Regions from separate parts of the Homo sapiens genome. Here all the other regions are linked to region 1. Evidence: promoter capture Hi-C in 16 types of primary human blood cells and fetal thymus (Javierre and others, 2016). All regions are on one chromosome and are shown on one strand. Each heading gives the region's core, a stretch centred on a gene start or on the middle of the fragment in contact. The rest is flanking DNA. Distances are from core to core; before and after follow the strand shown.

What was found. The method cuts DNA at HindIII sites, captures the fragments that hold promoters and counts their contacts. A CHiCAGO score of 5 or more calls a contact.
Region 2: the fragment with the promoter of MZF1 here is called in contact with the fragment with the promoter of ZNF586 in region 1 in 2 of 17 cell types (naive B cells and total B cells); the score reaches 5.7 in naive B cells.
Region 3: the fragment with the promoter of ZNF446 here is called in contact with the fragment with the promoter of ZNF586 in region 1 in 1 of 17 cell types (neutrophils); the score reaches 5.1 in neutrophils.

The regions. Positions count from the first base shown.
Region 1 is chr19:57,768,373-57,771,027 of GRCh38, reverse strand. ZNF586 (zinc finger protein 586) reads right to left here and starts at 1,352. Exons shown (of 3, transcript NM_017652.4): 1 at 1,150-1,352. The coding sequence starts at 1,185. RefSeq lists enhancers at 1,118-1,367, 1,089-1,628. The HindIII fragment of the contact is 1,086 bases long and covers 349-1,434 here.
Region 2 is chr19:58,572,040-58,574,694 of GRCh38, reverse strand. It overlaps MZF1 (myeloid zinc finger 1), which reads left to right and starts at 1,360. Exons shown (of 6, transcript NM_198055.2): 1 at 1,360-1,640. It overlaps MZF1-AS1 (MZF1 antisense RNA 1), which reads right to left. Exons shown (of 6, transcript NR_027334.2): 5 at 1,872-2,117; 6 at 1-1,778. RefSeq lists enhancers at 986-1,415, 1,476-1,565, 934-1,793, 1,794-2,655. The HindIII fragment of the contact is 12,442 bases long and covers 1-2,655 here.
Region 3 is chr19:58,475,098-58,477,752 of GRCh38, reverse strand. ZNF446 (zinc finger protein 446) reads right to left here and starts at 1,401. Exons shown (of 7, transcript NM_017908.4): 1 at 1,249-1,401; 2 at 193-574; 3 at 1-116. The coding sequence starts at 534. It overlaps ZNF324 (zinc finger protein 324), which reads right to left. Exons shown (of 4, transcript NM_014347.3): 4 at 2,317-2,655. RefSeq lists enhancers at 1,143-1,342, 1,497-1,791, 1,613-1,862, 2,103-2,162, 2,223-2,312. The HindIII fragment of the contact is 6,419 bases long and covers 709-2,655 here.

The sequences.
Region 1 (2,655 bases), core at 103-2,602:
GCCCGGCCGTGAAACCCCACCTCTACTAAAAATACAAAAAGCCAGTTACTCGGGAGACTGAGATGAGAGGCTCTCCTGAGCCCGGAGAGGTCGAGGCCGTGCTGCGCCGTGATCGCGTCACCGCAACCCAGCCTGGGTGTTGAGTGAGAACCCGTCGCCGAAAAAAAAAAAAGATGCCAAGATCTAGACATGTGGGATAGGATGAGGACCAGTGAAGGACTAGAGCATCCCCTACTTCCTACTGTGGATTCTGTAAGTGCTTCTGTAGCCATGAGGTGTGCCAAAAGGCAGGGCTTTCACAAATGTGTCTGTGCTCGGATTTGATAGACTCAGGCTTCTCTGTAAGCTTTTTTTGGCCCTGCAGCCAGATGACTTCAGACTGAGTCTCTAATCTTGTGGCCCAGTGCTCAATGTCACCTCTCAATGATTCAACCTCTCAATGTCCTCATCACTGCCTTCAACTCTGTTCTTCCTTCGAACATCTTTTGGGAATCGCAACTCTAACACAGATTTCCTCCTTTGTTCAAAACTGTCCATGGCTTTTAGCGTCCTCACAGTCAAAGTTCAACCCTCAGCCTGGTACTGAAGAAACAACTCCGCCTCGGCCAGGCGCGGTGGCTCACGCCTGTATTCCCAGCACTTTGGGAGGCCGAGGTGGGCGGATCACCTAAGGTCAGGAGTTCGAGGCCAGCCTAGCCAACATGGTGAAACCCCGTGGTGGCGCATGCCTGTAATCCCAGCTACTCGGGAGGCTGAGGCAGGAGAATCGCTTGAACCGGGGAGGTGGAGCTTGCAGTGAGCCGAGATCGCGCCACTGCACTCCAGCCTGGGCGACAGAGTGAGACTCCGTCTCAAAAAAAAAAAAAAAAAGAAATAACTCCGTATCACACTTCTTTCCCAGTAGACACACGATGTCCCCGTGTTCCGCATCCTCCTGCCTCAGTCGCGCCTGCAGGCCTTTGCCCTCCGCCAGTCTCGCTCTGCCGACCGCATCAACTGGGTGTCGGAAACAGGGATCCCACCCGCCGGCGCCTCTCCGTCCCTGACAGAGGCCTGGGCTGCAGGGACGCGAGGAGGCGGCCCTCACGATCAGGGGCCTCAGGGTCTGGGTGGGTAGGGTGGGTAAGGCCCGGAGGTCGCAGCGCTCACCTGAGCAGGCGCCCTCAGAGCGGCTGCTGCCGCCATGACTCTGGGCGGGGGGGGAACGCGGGCTCGGCGGTGTTCCTGTCGTTGTCCTGTCCCGGGTCGCGACCAGCGGCGTCGCCGAACCTCAGATCCGCCTGTGTGCAATGGCCACAACCACTCCTCCCGAGCTCGTCCAGACCCAGCATCGCCGGATGGACCTGACAGGCCAAAATGGCTGCCACGGCTAGGACGCCGGAAGTCCTGGCTTGACTTTACGTGCCCCGGCAATGGCACGGCTTCTCTGAAGCTTCATTGGCTCAGCCACGTTACCATTTCGCAGGGCGGATTCTGGGTAATGTAGTTCCCAGACATGGGCAGCGCTTAAGGTGGCTTTCTTCCGACTTTCCGAAGAAAGGGGCAAGCTCCACTGCGAGGGGCGCTAGGAAATGGCGACTCCAGGTCCAGATGCGGAGGAGGGTCTCCCATCTTAGAAGAGGCCATACGCACATTTCTGGGGGTACTGTGTGCAACTGATTGCCCGCGTGTTTGGAGACTTCTTATTTCAGAATTTGTGATGCTCGGCTTCTTCCTTTTTTTTTTTTTTTTGTCTTTTTTTTAAGACATAGTTCTCTCTGTCACTCAGGCTGGGGTGCAGTGGTGTGATCTTGGCTCACTGCAGCCTATGCCTCCCGGGTTCAAGCGATTCTCGTGCCTCAACCATCCGAGTAGCTGGGATTACAGGCGTGTGCCACCATACCCTGCTAATTTTTGTATTTTTAGTAGAGACGGGGTTTCCTCATTTTGGCCAGGCTGGTCTCGAACTTCTGGCCTCAAGTGATCTGCCTGCAATGGTCTACCGAAGTGCTAGGATTACAGGCGTGAACCACCGTTCTCAGCCCATTAGCAACACTTTTATTTATATCTTTAACCTACAGATTCCTCTAGAAATCTGATATCAACATCAAAAAGCTAATGAGACAAATGCTATTATGTTACAGGACAATGGCTGCGGTGTTCAAACATGGAGTATGTATGCATGAGAGAAGAGAGAGACCCTCTCACATTGTTTTATATTCAGTAAAAACAACAAGGAAGTAAAACCAAAGACAGGCAACCCCGCGCCAGGCCCGAAACCAGGCCTAGGCCCGCCTGGCCTAAACCCAGTAGTTAAAAATCAACTTATGATTTAGAAGCCGATGTTATTCATAGATTCCTTAGATTGTATAGAAGAACATTGTGAAACTCCCTGCCCTGTTCTGTTCCTCCCTGACCACCGGTGCATGCAGCCCCTGTCACATACCCCTTGCTTGCTCAAATCAATCACGACCCTTTCATGTGAAATCTTTAGTGTTGTGAGCCCTTAAAAGGGACAGAAATTGTGCACTCCGGGAGCTCAGATTTTGAGACAGTAGCTGGCCAATGCTCCCAGCTGAATAAAGCCCTTCCTTCTGCAACTCGGTGTCTGAGAGGTTTTGTCTGCGGCTCGTCCTGCTACATGCACAGGGTGCTTTTACACTGAGATATTTCAAG
Region 2 (2,655 bases), core at 111-2,610, 800 kb before region 1:
ACACCTGTAATTCCAGCAATTTGGGAGGCCGAGGTGGGCGGATCACCAGAGGTCTGGAGGTCAAGACCAGTCTGGCCAACATGGTAAAACCCCATCTCTACTAAAAATACAAAAATCAGCCGGGTGTGGTGGAGCAGCCTGCAGTCCCAGCTACTCGGGAGGCTGAGGCAGGAGAATCGCTTGAACCTGGGAGACGGAGGTTGCAGTGAGCCGAGATCGTGCCACTGCACTCCAGTCTGGCAACAGCGAGACTCCGTCAAAAAAAAAAAAAAAAAAAAGAAAGAAAGAAAAAGAAAAACACTGAAATAAAAGCACAAAGTTGGATACAAAACTGCTTAGTGAGCTACAAAGCGATACACTGGACAGAAAGCATTTGCAACCTATCAACCTGTACAGGGTAGCATATAACTGGACAGCATCTGGACTCCTAAGTTTTCCTAACAGTTTTACCTCGGATTCTCCCTGTCTCTCTTCGTGCTGTCATCTTTCTCTAGGTCTTCGAAAACTGTCAATCCATCTTACTGTATCTCTAATTTCTGTCCCTTTTCTCCCTTCTTGTTTCTGTCCCTCTCCCTTCTTGTCTACCTCTTGAGTCTGGATATCTGCATTTCTTGTCTCTGTGAACCCATTCTGCGTTTCCTTCTTTGTGTCTCTTTCATCTGCATCCCTTTCTGATCTGCCTCTCTCTTGCTAACTGTTCTGACACCTGTTTGCCCGGCCCTGACCCTCTGATCCACTCAGCCCTCTTATAACTTGGACCCGTGTCTCTATGTTTGTTCACTTATTTTCACTGTCTCTCCTCGCGTCGAGTCTCCGGTCCTCCCAGTCTGTGAGTCTGTCTCTCTGTCTCTCTCTCTCTTCCTCCCGCCGGTCCTTCGTCTCTCTTTGCCCTTGAGTCTCTGGTCTCTCTCCGTCTCTCCTCGCTGTTTCTATCGATCGGCATCTCTCTGCCCCAGTACCCTTCCCCACCTCTTCATCCCACATGCCCCATTGCATTTTCAACGCCCGCCGCGTCTCCGGGTTACCCAGGCGATGTCGAGTCGTGTCCCCAGGTTACCATGGAGACGTTCAGGGCCCGCCCCTCGCCCATGATCACAGAGGAACGTCATCGCGCCGCGCGCGCACGTACACACGAAGGGCCTGCTGACTACATCTGCCGGAAAGCATCGGGCCAAGCCTTTCTCCATTTTGCGGTCTAGGAAGTAGCAGAGGCCCCTTCCTGTAGGGAGTTGCCATGGAGACGCGGTGGGGCACCGACGGAGTTCTAATGACGGCCGTGATTGGTGCAGGATCCTGCTAATCTCAGGAAGGCCCGTAGAGAAGTGAGGAAAACGTGGTGGGGGGCATGCGCGATCTGGTAGGCGGTGCTGCCGTCTGTTGTACCTGAGAGGCTTGCGCATGCCGACGCACGGATTCGAGGCGGGGAGCATGGGAAGAAGCGGCCAGGAGTATGACCTGATCATTGCGACCACCGCTAGGGGAAGGGAGGAGAGGGTGTAGAAACGGGGACGAGGGTGGGGGAAGGGCAAGGAGGCGCTCGAGCTGGTGCGCGGAGCATCCTGGGAGACGTAGTCCAGCGGGAGGGGGAAGTCGAAGACTGCGCGTGCTCAGGAGCGCGGAGCGGCCCGCTGAGCGCAGAGGTGAGGGCGGGGTCCTCTTAACCGGGAGGGCTATCGTGTGGACGGGGGCGGTGGCTGCAGACTCGGGGATTCCGGCTCCCCAGTGAGACCGGAAGCGCGGGGAACGAATCCGGGCAGTCCTTGCGGGAGCGCCCAGGGCTAGAGCGAGAGGCTTGTCAATCACTACTCGTTGCCACGACGACAGGCTTTGGGAGCCCCGCCCCCGGTTGCCTAGGCGTCGTCTGGACCTACCTTGGCACCCTGGAGCGGAAGTTGCCGCCTGGACTTCTGGGAAGTGTATTTCGGGACCCTCCGTAGGTACCTGCCATCTTGGCTATGACCCAAGTCTCTCCCAGGGTTTCAGGTTGACTTGGCACCTTGAAGAGTGGAGGCTTGGCCCCCAGGATGAGGCGGCCCTCGAAATCGATGCCACCCACGGGGGAATGATTCTGCGGTGCCATCCCCTTCATAAACGCAGATTCCTTCCTAAAGCCGCAGCTGCAGAAGGAACAGCGCGAGGAGGGAGGTCAGCCCCACTTGCAAATGGGGAAACAAGTTCTCGAAGGCACAGTGATCTGAAGATGGGCGGAATCAGAGTCTCGGGACTTCCTTGCAGGCTCCTGTTCCGGCAGTCTTGGAGCCTTTGCCGCCCCCCCACCCATTGCGAAGCTCCCCCATCCCCTTCCAACCCCAGCTAAATCAGGAAGCTGAGATGGGGCATTGCGTAGTGTGATGTTGGGCTTAGAAGATGGGGCTGAGTAGGGAGAGAGGGTGCTGCCTGGGAGCTGAGCCATACAAGTGACTGCACAGGTTGACATGGAGGATTAGGTGGAGTGAGGCTTCCAAGCAGGGAGGGGAATGATGGTGGGGCCCAAATGAGGAGCCACATCGAAGTAGATGAGAGAATAGAAGGTGAAGTAAGGGCTGGCGTTGGGTAGGGGGAGACGCCAGCAGTGATGCTGATGCCCAGGCTGTAGGTGTATAGGTGCCATCCACCTGGTAAAGAGAGAGCTGTAGCGCAGGAATGAGGTTGCAC
Region 3 (2,655 bases), core at 152-2,651, 710 kb before region 1:
TCCTGGGGACCTTCCCCAGGGGACTCCACTGTCCCTGAGGGGTGGGGGCTCCCAAGTGGTTCCTCTGTCTTCTGGGCTGCAGGGAGCACCTCCTGCTTCAGGACATGGGCTGTGATCTGAGGAGAAGAGGTAGGTCACAATGGCTCTAGCCAGGGTCTATCCCTCCAAGAAGCTGATGCCAGCCACACTCACCCAGCCCAACAGTTGCCCAGGGTCATGCTGCAGTCCTTCGACTAGGGCAGCGGCCTCCTCAGGACTGCCTGGCCGCTGACCGCGCACCCAGGCCTGGATCTCGGGAGGCAGTGTGCCCAGGAACTGCTCCAGCACCAGCATCTCCAGCATCTGCTCCTTGGAGTGTGCCTCAGGCTGCAGCCACTGGCAACACAGCTCACGCAGCCGGGCCAGGGCTTCTCGGGGACCTGCCACCTCCTGGTAGCAGAACCCTCGGAAGCGGAGGCGGGCAGTCTCAGGCTCCTCAAGGGTGGTCTCTGGGTCCATGACGGGCAGGCATGGGGGACCCAGAGGGGATGGCATTCTTGCTCAAGGGGGTGGTCTTGGAATCGTCAAGATGGGCCTACAGAAAAGGAAGGGTCGGAATGTCAGCCAAGAGAATCTGGCCAGGGGAAGGCAGACACCAGGCTCAGCCCAGGGGGCTGAGACCAGGACCAAGTGTACTCTGAGGCCAGAAGAGATAAGGCCAAGAAAGCTTCATGGAAGGAGGAGGGTCACAGGACCCAAACAATGATGGCAAATGAGAGCAGGAGGAAGCCTCAGGGACAAATGCTTGGACGCAAGGTGTCCAGGGAGCTTCCTGGAAATTGCAAACAGTTGGGTCCAGCAGGGGACTGCTGGGAGATGACGCTAAAGAGGTGGAGAAAGACAGTCATCACAGAGTTCCAGCGCCAGGCTGAGGAGCCACAGTGTCTAGCCGAGGTGCGAGGAGAGTGGACCAGGGTGGGCGGGTAGAAGGTGGGGCCAGGCTGTAATGTACGGGGACGAGTCGCCCTCCACAATCTCGGGGAGGTTGACTGGGTGGGACCTCCTTTAGGAATGGCTCTGGGGAGGGGGCACGTGGACATCGTGCTCGCTGACCACAGCGAGCCGTGGGCGACTCACACTGCCGGGGCCCGTGCATGTGAAAACGAAAAGCAAAGGCCAAGAAAAACGGGGCCAAAGCTCCACGTTGCGCGGAGTCGAGGGATGGCCACAGCATCCCGGCCCTGAAGGTCTGCAGTGAAAGACGCCCACCTGGACGGGCCTGAGAGACCAGGCCTGACACCCGGCCTATCCGAGGGATGCTCGAACTTCGGGATCTGTCCCCAAAAGGGGAAGGCAAGAGGGAGGCGTTCCAAGAGGACTTGCCAGGCCCGGCCCCCCGGAACGGCGTTGAGGGTAGGAAAGGCCTGAGCGAAGGCTGAGGTGACGCGCGCGGCCTGTCGGGAAGTGGGCGGGCCCTCCAGGGCGCCGACAGCAGGAGCCGTTCAGGCCCCAGAGGGCGACCCCAAGCCCTCCCACGGGGTGGAAAGGCTGCGCCCACTCTGGCAGCCTGCGCTCACCTCAACCCGGAGCGGTTGCTTGGAGGCCGCTTCCCGGATGTGGCGCCGCACAACGCGGGGCGCCTCAGCCGGGTGTTGCCCCGGCGACGCCGCGCTGACCAATCTCTCGCCTGCACCGAAGGCACCGCCCATGCCCTTTGAACTACATTTCCCATGAGCATCAGCAAGACAGGCGCGACCGTGACCCGCTGACCCGCATTTGCAGCAGCCTCTGACGCCTGAGAGGCGCTCTGTTCCTCTAGGAGGTACGGCAGAGTCCCAGGGTTATATGGTCTCCCTCCGCTCTGAGAGCAGCTCTTCCCGGGTTATAAACTTGCGCGTCTGTACAGTGGGCCGGTTTCTATTGGCAGGTGAGGGGAGGGGGTTTTGCCCAATCAGAGGTGGCGCTTGCTTGGCCCCGCCGCCCCCACGCCATTCCCCGGGCCAGCCCCTAGATAACGCTAGGGCATATCCGCCCGCCTCCAGCTGTTCCCGTGGCAACGTTCAGGAGCGTTGCCTCGACTTCCGAAGAGGCTGGAAGTGGCGGCCCAGTGGTTTCCTAGGTCGAGTAGTTCGCTGGGACTCGCTTCCAAGTGGACCCGGGAGAGGCGGTGGTGTAGAAGACCACCCTGAGCCTGGGCTTTCTCCCGCCAGGAGGGTGCGAGGGCCATCTTTGACCTCTGTTAAGCGCCCTAAGGAGGTACCGACGGTTGTGACCGCAGTCTCTGACGTCTTCAGATGTCAGTCCTACAAAGTCGGGGGTGGAGGTTTCCCTCCAGGCTGATCGGACATGCTCAACCGTTTATTTACCTTTGAATTTGGGGAGCAGAACTAGCCAGGGTGACACTAGTTTCTCCCAATAAGCAGTGTTACAGTTTTCTAAATCTGTGGGGTCAGTTTTGCTTCCACACTTAAAAGTGGCCGAGCCATTACTTAGTCAGTCCTAAATTACACCGCCTGTTTTGGTTTCTTTGGATACCTGGGAATCCCTGCTGCCTGCTCTGGATGAAGAGCAGTGGTCTTGATCACCGATTGGAAGCACCGAGCATGTGCGTGGATGAGACTTGTCAACTCGGAGCTTTCCAACGGCCTCCTCAGGTTGTTTTTGGGGATGAGGTGC